Regions from separate parts of the Homo sapiens genome. Here region 1 is linked to region 2. Evidence: promoter capture Hi-C in 16 types of primary human blood cells and fetal thymus (Javierre and others, 2016). All regions are on one chromosome and are shown on one strand. Each heading gives the region's core, a stretch centred on a gene start or on the middle of the fragment in contact. The rest is flanking DNA. Distances are from core to core; before and after follow the strand shown. Region 1 has its middle 37 kb from the start of GATA4. Region 2 holds the start of BLK-AS1 (BLK antisense RNA 1).

Region 1 (5,790 bases), core at 561-3,060, 110 kb after region 2:
GATTTCAAACTTTTTTTATTTCAATAGCTTTTTGAGTACAAGTGGTTTTTTGGTTACATGGATGAATTGTACAGTGGCAAAGTCAGATCTTTATGCACCTGTCACCCAAGTAGTATACATTGTACCCAATAAGTAATTTTTTATCCCTCACCTCCCTCCCTACCTCCCTCTTTCTTCTGAGTCTCTAAAGTCCATTATACCACTCTGTCTGCCCTTGCATACCCGTAGCTTAGCTCTCACTTATAAGTGAGAACATACCGTGTTTGGTTTTCCATCCTTGAGTTATTTCACTTAGAATAATGGCCTCCAGCTCCAGTCAAGTTGCTGCAAAAGATATCATTTCCTTTTTTATGGGTGAGTAGTATTCCATGACATATATATTTGCTTTCGCTACTCATTAGTCAGTGGGCACTTAGATTGGTTCTACATCTTTGCAATTGAGAATTGCATTGTAATAAACATATGCATGTGGGTGTCTTTTTGATATTACTTCTTTTCCTTTGGGTAGTTACCTGGTAGTGAGATTACTGGATCAAATGATAGATCTACTTTTACTTCTTTGAGAAATCTCCACACTGTTTTCCATAGAGGTTGTACTCATTTACATTTTCACCAGCAGTGTATAATGGTCCCTTTTCACCACATGCAGCCAGCACCTATTGTTTTTTAATTTGTTAAATAGTGGCCATTCTTGCAGGGGTAAGGTTGTATCTCATTGTGGTTTTAATTTGCATTTCCCTGATAATTAGTGATGTTGAGCATTTTTTCATATGTTGGTTGGCCATTTGTATACCTTCTTTTGAGAATGTCTACTCATGTCATTTGCCCACTTTTTGATGGGATTATTTGTTTCTTTCTTGCTGATTTGTTTGAATTCCTTGTAGAGTCTGGAAATTAGTCCTTTGTCAAATGAATAGTTTGCAAATATTTTCTCCCACTCTGTGAGTTGTCTGTTTACTCTGATGATTATTTCTTTTGCTGTACAGAAGCTTTTAGTTTAATAAGGTCCCATTTCTTTATTGTGTTTGAGTCAGATATTTTTATTATATTATGGGAATATCCTTCTGTTCTAATTTTTTAGTGAGAGTTTTATTTGTTTTAATCAAGAAAGGATGCTACATTTGGTTAAATGCCTTTTCACTCCTATTGGTATAGTTGTATAGTTTTTCTTCCTTTGACTGAATACTGTAATAAATTTTATTGTTTCCTAATATTTTGTTTTATTTTTTTAGAGATGAGAGTCTTACTCTATCACCCAGGCTAGAGTGCACTGGTACAATCATAGCTCACTGCAGCCTTGAACTCCTGGGCTCAAGAAGTCCTCCTGCCTCAGCCTCCCAAGTAGCTGGGATTACAGGCATAAGCCACAGTGCCTGTCTGTTTCCTAATATTAATGACCTGGCTCCCTAAGGGAAAACCCTATTGAACATTGATATTTTCTTTTAATATACTGCTGGATTCAGCTTGCTAATATTTTATTCATTTAGAATAGTTACATCAATATTAAGAATAATAATTTCATTAAAATGACTCCAAATTTATACCAGTTTTATCCTTCATTTATCCTAAAAATATCAGGCTGGGTGGAGCAGCTCGTGCCTATAATCCCATCATTTTGGGAGGCCAAGGCAGGAGGATAACCTGAAACCAGAAGTTTGAGACCAACCTGGGCAAAACAGTGTGACTCTGTCTCTACAAAAATTTTAAAGAATTAGCCAGGCATGGTGGCACACATCTGTAGTCCCAGCTACTCAGGAAGGGAGGTTGAGGTGCGAGGATCACTTGAGCCAGGGAAGTTGAGGCTGCAGTAAGCTGTGATCACACACCACTGCACTCCAGCCTGGGTGACAGAGTGAGACCCTGTCTCAATTAAAAAAAAAAAAAAAAAAAAAAAAAAAGAGGAAAAGTTTCAAATCAGCTATCTAAGCTCTCGCCTCAAGAAACTGGAAAAATAAGAGCAAAATAAGTCCAAAGCAAATAAAAGGAAGGAAGTAATAAAGACAGGAGCGGATATCAATGAAATAGAAAATAGAAAAATAACAGAAAAAAAACAATAAAACAAAAAGCTGAAAAGACTGGGCGTGGTAGCTCATGCCTATAATTCCAGCACTTTGGGAGGCCGAGGCAGGTGGATCTGAGGTCAGGAGTTCGAGACCAGCCTGACCAACATGGTGAATGAAATCTCATCTCTACTAAAAATACCAATTCTTCAAAAAGTATAAAGTACAACCACTTACTTAATATGAAATCAGCCATTTGAATAGCCCTATAACTCTTTTTAAAATTGAAACAGTAATTAAAACTCAGAAAACACACCAATTCAACACATTTTTTCCAAGAAAAAAAAAACATTTTCCAATGCATTTTGTAAGGCCAGTATTACAGTAACACTAAAACCAGACTAACATACAAAGAAAACACTACAGCCCAATATCCCTCATTGACATAGATGCAAATCCTTAACAAAATATCAGCAAATAGAATGCAGCAACATGCAAGAATTACACATCATGACTAGTGAGATTTATTTCAGAGATGCATAACTGACTCACTAATTTAAAATCAATGCAATCCACCAGTTTAACATGCTAAGGAAAACAAATCATATGATCATACCAATTGGTACAGAAAAAAGCTTTCGATGAAATTTGATACCCATTCATGATAAAAACTCTGAAAATTAGGAATAAAGGGAACTTCCTCAACTTGATAAAGAGCACTTACAAAAGACCAACAGCTAACATAATTAATGGTAAAAGACTAAAGCCTTTCCACAAAGGCTGAGAATAAGACAAGAATTTCCACTCTCACTACTTCTATTCAGCATAGTAATGGAAGTTTTAGCCAGAAAATAAGGCAAGTAAAGAAAATAATAATAAAAGGGCTGGGTGCAGTAGTATGTACCAGTAGTAGTCCAATCTACTAGGGAGGCTGAGGCAACAGGATCACTTGAGCCCAGGAGCTCAGGCTGTAGTACACCATAACTGCACCTGTGAATAGCCACTGACCTCCAGCCTGGGCAACACAGCAAGACCCTGTCTTTTTAAAAGATAGTAACAAAAATAAAAATACAATGAATACAGGTCAGAAGGGAAGAAATTAAAGTATGTCTGTTCGGAGATAAAGTGATCATCTACATAGAAAACCTCCAAGAAATATACCAGAAAAGAAAAAAAAAACCTCCTGGAACTAACAAATGAGTTCAGCAAGGCTGCAGAAAACAAAATCAACATACAAAAACAAACTATAATTCTATATACTAGCAATGAACATGTGGAAAATGAAATTAACCATATAATATTAGTTGCAATTGCTCAAATAATTAGATTCTTAAGTGTAAATCCAACAAAACATGTATAGGACTTGTATACTGAATGTTACAAAACACTGGTGAAAGAAATTAAGATTTAAATAAATGGAGAGACATACCACGTTCATGGATTGGAAGATTCAACATAGTAAATATGTCAGTTCTTTCAAAGTTCATATATAGTTTTAATGCAATTCCTGTGAAAAATCTCAGCAAGATTTTCATATAGAGACAAGGTTATTCTAAAATTTATGTAAAAAGGTGAAAAAATTATGTAGAAAGCATTAAAAAACCCACCCAACTAGAAGAGCTGAAACAATTTTGGAAAAGAAGGACAAAGTGGGATTTTATAGCTATAGTAATCAAGACTATGTAGCATTGATAGAGAAATAGGCACTACATCAGTAGAACAGAGTAGAGAACCCAGAAATAGACCCACACAAGTATGGCCGACTGATTTTTGACAAAGGTGCAAAAGAAATTCAATGGAGAATAGATAGTCCTTTCAACAAATGATGCTGGAACAACTGGATATCTTGAAACTAAATAAACAAACAAACTTTGAACTCAACTCATACTTTATACAAAAATAACTCAAAGTGGAGCATAGATTTGAATGTAAAATGTATAAGTATAAAACTTTTAGAAGAAAACATAGGAGAAAATCTTCATAACCTAAGGTTTGATGAAAACTGCTTAGACATGACAATAAAAGTACAATTCATTAAAAAATTGAACTTCTTCAAACTGAAAATGTCTGCTTTGTGAAAGACCCTTTTAAGTAACTGAAAAGATAAGTTACAGATGGGGAGAAAATACTTGCAAACCAAGGATTCACATCTAGAATATATAAAGAACCCTCAAAGCTCAATAGTAAAATAATAATTATAATAACAATAGTAAAACCTAATTACCCAGACAATGGGCAAAAGACATGAGGAGGATGTCTTTTTATCAAAGGATTTACATCTTCTGTTGTAAATCCTTTCATCAAAGGAGAGAATTTCCTTCTTTTTATGGCTGAATAGTCTTCCATTGTGTATATGTGCCACATTTTCTTTATTCATCTGTTAATGGACACTTGGGTTGAATCCATGTCTTCACTATTGTGAAGAGTGTGGCTATATACATGGGAGTGCAGATGTCATTTCTACATACTGATTTCCTTTTCTTTCCCACTACTCAGTAGTGAGATTACCGGATTACATAGGTAATTCTAGTTTTAAATTTTTTTTGAAACCTCTGTACTGTTTTCTCAGTGGCTATACTAAATTTACATTTCCATCAACAGTGTATAAGGGTTTCCCTTTCTCCACATCCTTGCCAACACTTGCTATCTTTTGTCTGTCTGACCATAGCCGTTCTAAATGGAGTGAAGTGATATCTCATTGTCATTTTGAGTTGCATTTCCCTGATGATTACTGATGTTGAGCATTTTTTCACATACCTGTTTGCTATTTGTATGCCTTCTTTTGAGAAATATTTATTCCATCTATTCAGTTATTTTGCTCACTTTTAAATCAAATTTTTTTTTGGTATTGAATTATTTGAATTCCTGACGTAGTCTGGATATTAACCCTTTGTTAGATATAGAGTTTGCAAATATCTTCTCCCATTCTGTGGGTTGTCTCTTCACTTTGTTGATTGTTACCTTTGCTGTGCAGACTCTTCTTAGTTTGATGTAATTCCATGTGTCTATTTTTTGCTTTTGTTGCCTGTGATTTTGAGATCTTATCCAAAAAATCCTTGCCCAGACCAACATCATGAAACATTTTCCCTACGACTTATTCTAGTAGTTTCATAGTTTTGAGCCTAATCTTCAAGTCTGTAATCCATTTTGAGTTGATTTTTGTATTTGGTAAGAGATAGAGGTCTAGTGTCATTCTTCTTCATGTAGCTATCCAATTTTTCCAGCACCACTTATTGAAGAAAATATCCTTTTCCCCATGTGTTTGGTCTCTTTGTCAAAAATCAGTTGGCTGCAGATGTGTGAATTCATTTCTGGGCTTTCTATTCTGTTCCATCGGTCTATGTGTCTGTTTTTATACCAGTATCATGCTGTTTTGGTTACTATAGCTTTGTAGTGTATTTGGAAGACAAGTAGTGTGATGCCTTTACCTTTGTTCTTTTTGCTTAAGATTGCATTGGTTATTCACGGTTTTTTGTTGTTATTGTTGTTCTATACAAATTTTAGAATTATTTTTGGACAGATAGCTTTTTCATTATTAGCCCTGGCTAAAAAGTCCCAGGAAAATTCTTAGTGGATCTTCAAATTGGCCAAACTTGGGACATCTGTTGCACCTCAGCCTCAGGGAGTGGATGTCGCATAGGAAAGAGGATCTGTCCCTTGAAGAAGGGATGAGAGAAGCCATATGATCGGACCAGCCCCCCAAAAAACCCTCTTGGCCCTTAAAAATGAAATTACCAGATGGCCCTTGGTCCTGTAGACCTTATGTCCTTATGTCCCAAGAAGAGCAACA
Region 2 (5,740 bases), core at 561-3,060:
TCCTCCACTGCCTGAGGCCCCATATAGAAGGGACCTGGAACGCAAGGTAGGCACCACACAACCATGGCCTCCGGAACTGCATGTTCCAGCTCTGGCACCTGGAATGGGGTGGCACCTGGGCACTTACCCCGATTTTGGTTAAGGGATCACCTCCGAGCAAGCTCTCTGTCTTCTGATTGGCTTCTTCACTCCCCCGGGCTCAGGTTACTACAAAAACAACATGAAGGTGGCCATTAAGACGCTGAAGGAGGGAACCATGTCTCCAGAAGCCTTTCTGGGTGAGGCCAACGTGATGAAGGCTCTGCAGCACGAGCGGCTGGTCCGACTCTACGCAGTGGTCACCAAGGAGCCCATCTACATTGTCACCGAGTACATGGCCAGAGGTGGTGCCCCCCGCAGAGCCGCATCCTCAGAGCGAGGCGGGAGGGCCGGGCTTAGCAGGAGGAGGAGGGTCCGCTGCGGTGGGTTCACCAGGCCAGGGGGTCCTGCAGATCTAGGGCATGGCACGGTGTGGGGACAGGGAGGGATGGAGGGAGGGGGAGGGACAGAGGGAGGGTGAGAAACAGGAGGGTGAAGTGGTTCTGACAGAGCCATGTTCTCAGCCCAGGAGCAGTTCAGACAGCATTTCTGGAGTGCATCTTCTGTGCCTAGCACTCTTTGATGCCTGCTGGGAGGGACAGAGCATTGCAAAGTCAGACGAACACCAGGCCAGGCATGCAGGGACAGTACTAGATCCAGGTCTCCTGCCTCCTGGTCATGCAACCATTTACAACTGTGTGAATATTTTACAAGGATGGCCAGAGAGGTTGGGCTTGATGGCCTCTGAGGTCCACGGCGTGGCCAAGTTCTCATGCCACTTTCTCACCCTCCTATGACCCTGACCGCACACTGCTCCTATAGGATCCTAACATGCCCATGTTGATATAGCTCCCTAACAACTGTCACCAAGGGGCCCCCGGTCGGAGGCTGTGCTGGGGGTGCCTCTAGCCTGCCCCTAGGGCAAGCATCCATCCCTCCCAGCTTTCTGATTCCAGGGGGAGCTGCATTTGTCCCCTGCACCAAACCTGGGGGACAGTTCTCTCCATTCTGGTGCTTTCTTGCTGATGCCTGGTCCTCAGAGGCAGAGGGTGTCTGCCAGCAGGGATCAAGGGAGCGAGGCCAACACGGGGGGAAAGACAAGAAGGGGCATGAAACTTCGAGTCAGAACTGGGGTCCCACTCCCAGCTCCCGGCTGGGTGACTTCAGACAGGTCCCTGCACCTGGCTGAAACCTAACTTCTGGGCAACTGCTGGTATATTGGCTGCCTCCCGGGGTGCTGAGACTGGCATTTTGTAAAGTGGAAGGCACTCGGCAGCAGTAGGTAGATCCTTCCTGATGCACCGAGAGATCTGAGGGTGCAAACTCCCACTTCCCGCGCCCATGGGGAGCCACTCACACCAGAGAGAGGCTGGCACCACCAGGGGCGGGTCACTTTGCAGAAGGGCACTTGCAACTTCTCTTTTCTTAGGATGCCTGCTGGATTTCCTGAAGACAGATGAAGGGAGCAGATTGTCACTCCCAAGGCTGATTGACATGTCGGCGCAGGTTGGTGAAGTACCAGGTGCAGAGAAAGGGCGGCATGTGCCACCTGCTGCCCACAATGGCTGCTCGTGCCTTACCACCCCATCCTCTCAGCCAGCAGGAGAAGTCAGGGGGTACTGAAGGCCACCTTCCTCTAGGCAGATATCCCCAAGGTCACCCACTGCACTTGGACTTGCAAACCCTGGCCACTGTGCCTCCTGCCCCACGCAGCTGTGAGGGAGCCCAGGGAATGGAGCCTTAGACCCGGGCTGCTGTGTTGGAATGAGGCTATTCTGTTCCGAAGGAAGAGAGGGCGAATGAATGTCATGGGAAACACACAGAGTTAGCAAGAGTTCCATTGAACCCGGCAGGCAAGTGTGTTCTGTTGTGACCTCATCTCTTCCTTAGATGGTGCCCACAAACATCTCCTGTAGGACTTCCCATCCCAGGGGCCCTCAGCCTTTGCACAGCCCTGGCGTCGACCCCAGGCTGATGGGCAGGCCTGAGCTACACACAGATGCCAGGGACATGACTTCTCTGAGCCCTGGAGGACAGCCCCACCTTCTGCCACCAGGGAATTGCGAGTGCTGGACCTCCTTGGCTACCCAGGACTGGTCCTCAGTGTCCCTCACGTTCACATGCAGAACTTTCTGGACTCCATGGGGTGAAGAGCAGAGTGGAGAGGAGGGTTTTAGCCGAGAGCTCTAGCTGGCAGGAAGCACATCTGGTGGCCCTGTTAAAACTGGAACTCTCAGCAGAAAAGTTTTGGTCTGTGGTCAGCCTGTGAGGCACACACGTGCGTACACATACACACACACATACAGCTGCCACCGAGAGGAAACGCTCCCACCCACCGCCCACATCAGCCCTCCCACCTCGCCCCTCGCCCAGCCTTACCCAGTAGCGCCGCTGCAGGAACTGATGCCACAACGCCTTTTTCCGCTGAGGTGGGCAGACAGCCATCTGGGCAGGCTGGTTTTGGAAAATGAGTGCTGGTAACCGGCTTCAAACCCCAGGGCAGTGATAAGCCTGCCCACTGCTGCTGCTTCCTTTCCCCTTCCTTCTCTCACCCTCCGCTGTCTCCTATTCAATCCCCACTACACCCCCTTGGGAAATCTCGTGTGACCCAGGGGCAAAGGATGTGAAAAGCCATCGGAGTTTAATACCTGGATGTAGCCACAGAATCGGGGGTGAGGAGCCAGAAAATCAGAACTTCCCAGAAGGGCAGCCTCTAACCACATGCTGACCATGCCAATGGCTCTCTAAGCACACATGTACACACACACACTCTCACACACATAAAAACACAGACTCACACACACACGGACAAACACAAACACATACACAGACTCACACAGACACGCAAACTCACACACAGACAGACACACACACAGACACACAGACTCACACACACAAACTCACACAGACACACAAATACACAGACTCAGACTCAAACACAAACTCACACAAACACATTTACACAAACTCACAAACTCACACACACAAACACACACACAAACACGCAAACTTACACACACATGAGCAGACACACACCCGGCCCTTCTGGGCTCTTCTTTTCTTACTCCATAGGAAGCCATGCAAAGTCTCGCCAGACCTTTCTTCCAAGGCCAGATCTGGCCAACCCCACAGGAACCCTGCAATCACAATCCCTCGGGCCCCACTTTGCAGCCAGATGCCACCGGTTCCCATGCCCCATGCCTCGCCACCCCTCTACCTCCTCTGCCCAGGAAGCCTTGAACACTTCCCACCTGGCAGAATCCTTATCATCATCCATGGCTCAAGCGTAATGTCATTTCTATGAAGGTTTCCCTGGACAAGAAACTGCCAGAGAGCCCTTAGCTCAGGTGTTCCCGGAAGCACTGTTCTTGCTCAGCAGATCTGGGCAGCTTCTTCTTGAAAGCAGATCTGGGCCCTACTCAACATTTTTTAAAATATATTTCTGGTACTGTTCAATAAATATTAGTTATCAGAACGAGTACTGTTAGATGCTGCCCAGATATATTTAGTACTCAGTTTTATATTCCCCACAGTCCCATATTAGTAAATGAGTATTGATTGCATGGTGTAGCAAGGGGATGGATGGATGCATGGATGGGTGGATGCGTGGGTGGGTGGGTGGGTGGGTGGGTGGGTGGATGGATGGATGCATGGATGGATGGATGGATGGATGGATGGATGGATGCATGCATGGATGGATGAATGGGTGGATGGATGGATGGGTGGGTGGGTGGGTGGATGGATGGATGGATCCATGGATGGATGGATACATGGAAGGATGCATAGATGGATGGATGGATGGATACATGGATGGATGCATGGATGTGTTGATGGATGGATGGGTGGGTGGATGGATGGATGCATGGATGGATGGATGCATGGATAGATGGATGGATTCATAGATAAACCAACAAAATGCAAGCATAAGGAGAAGTGGAATCAATTCTAGTGCTGGCTTCTTGAAGTCGCATGTCTGAAGAGGTAAATGGGGTCTCTGCTTTCTGCCTCAGTTTCTTCGTCCATTGATTGGGTGAATAAAGCCTTAGTTTCCTCAGCTAAAAGGTGCCAAGTAGCACCAGCTGCTATCCCTGGCCCAGGCTGGTGATCAGGGGAGGAGAGACAAGTCTCTTCTTCTTCACAGCCTCTGTCCACCTGGATCTGCCAGTGCTCCCTGGGTGCCCCCACGGGGCAGGCGCTGGGTGAGGTTCTTGGTCACAAATCAACCTCGTCTAATGCTTGCCTCAACCCCCTGCCCTGGAGACCACATCCCTCATGTTCCATGTCAGGACTGTGGCCCCTCGGGGAGGTTAAGCAGCTTGCTAGAGGTCAGCGACTTCCCGAGGGCCTCCAGCTCCAGGAGCTGTGCTTCCAGCCAGCCAGTGAGAGCTGCCTGTCCTTGCCTCCTGCTCCCCCTCCCCCTCCTTCCTTACCATTTCTTCTCTTCTCCCTCCCTCTCCTTTTCTCCTGCCTGTGTTCTTCTATCTTCCATCTCTGCAGACCCTTGGACACAGCTGTGTGGAGCGAGAACGAGGAGGGGGAGGGGCACAGGTAGCCCCTGTGTCTCTGATGCCCACGTTGCTGCGTTGCTGTTCTGGGCTTCTAGGAGAGGAGTTTATTCGGCTGAGGAGCAACACAGTCACCTTTCTACTCCATCCAAGAAACAGCTCCTTCCCCAGCAGCCCACAGGGGCTGTGCGGGGGACACAGTGTGGGCTCGGTCTTGGCGTGGAGGCCCCCAGGCTGTCCTTCACCATGTGCCTGTTCCCTCAGATTGCTGAAGGGATGGCATACATTGAGCGCATGAATTCCATCCACCGCGACCTGCGGGCGGCCAACATCCTGGTGTCTGAGGCCTTGTGCTGCAAAATTGCTGATTTTGGCTTGGCTCGAATCATCGACAGTGAATACACGGCCCAAGAGGGTAAGCACAGCCCCTAACCACAAGGGAAACCTAGGGCCTTATCTTTCCCAGCTCCTCAAAGCCGCCTTTAACTTCTCCCAGCACAGCCCTGAGGGAAGACACCTGAGGGCTATACGGTTTCTACAGCTCTAGATCAGCATTTCCTTCATTTACCCAAATGTGTTCAGCAGAATGGTAGTGCCCTGAGACCTCCCATGGAGGAACAGCTTTAGGATAAGGTAGGTTTGGAGAAACAGCAGTCCACCCTACTCCCTGTCTTGGAGATTCCCAGTGCACATCAACATATTAAAGGCACTGAGAAGTCCTGCAGCAAAGAAACAGTTTATGTTTGCCTCACCTAGTGCCTCCCAAACTAATTTGAGCTCCAAATACTATTTTTTTTTTTTTTGAGATGGAGTCTCTGTCACCCAGGCTGGAGTGCAGTGGCACAATCTTGGCTCACTGCAACCTCCGCCTCCTGGGTTCAAGCAATTCTTCTGCCTCAGCCTCCCAAGTAGTTGGGATTACAGGCGTGTGCCACTACACCTGGCTAATTTTTGTATGTTTAGTAGAGATGGGGTTTCACCATGTTGGCCAGGCTGGTCTCGAACTCCTGAATTTAGGTGATCTGCCTGCCTTGACCTCCCAAAGCGCTGGGATGACAGGTGTAAGCCATGCCCAAATACTATTTTTATATAGTCCCTATTAACCTTCCATGGAATTAGGCTTTCACAGAGCACACTGTGGGAAACACAGCTCTCAT

Evidence for each region. Contacts are between HindIII fragments. The CHiCAGO score rates a contact against its expected background, and 5 or more counts as called.
Region 1: a contact is called between a fragment that was not itself captured here and the fragment with the promoter of BLK-AS1 in region 2, in 2 of 17 cell types (naive B cells and total B cells). The highest score is 6.9, in naive B cells.

What each region holds. Positions count from the first base shown.
Region 1 is chr8:11,664,620-11,670,409 of GRCh38, forward strand. No RefSeq gene overlaps it. Among named protein-coding and RNA genes, the nearest start is that of GATA4, 37 kb to the right of the region's middle. The HindIII fragment of the contact is 1,646 bases long and covers 988-2,633 here.
Region 2 is chr8:11,556,455-11,562,194 of GRCh38, forward strand. BLK-AS1 (BLK antisense RNA 1) reads right to left here and starts at 1,811. Exons shown (of 5, transcript XR_948956.3): 1 at 1,436-1,811; 2 at 1-207. It overlaps BLK (BLK proto-oncogene, Src family tyrosine kinase), which reads left to right. Exons shown (of 13, transcript NM_001715.3): 9 at 204-383; 10 at 1,508-1,584; 11 at 4,848-4,998. RefSeq lists an enhancer at 1,981-2,270. The HindIII fragment of the contact is 8,296 bases long and covers 1-5,740 here.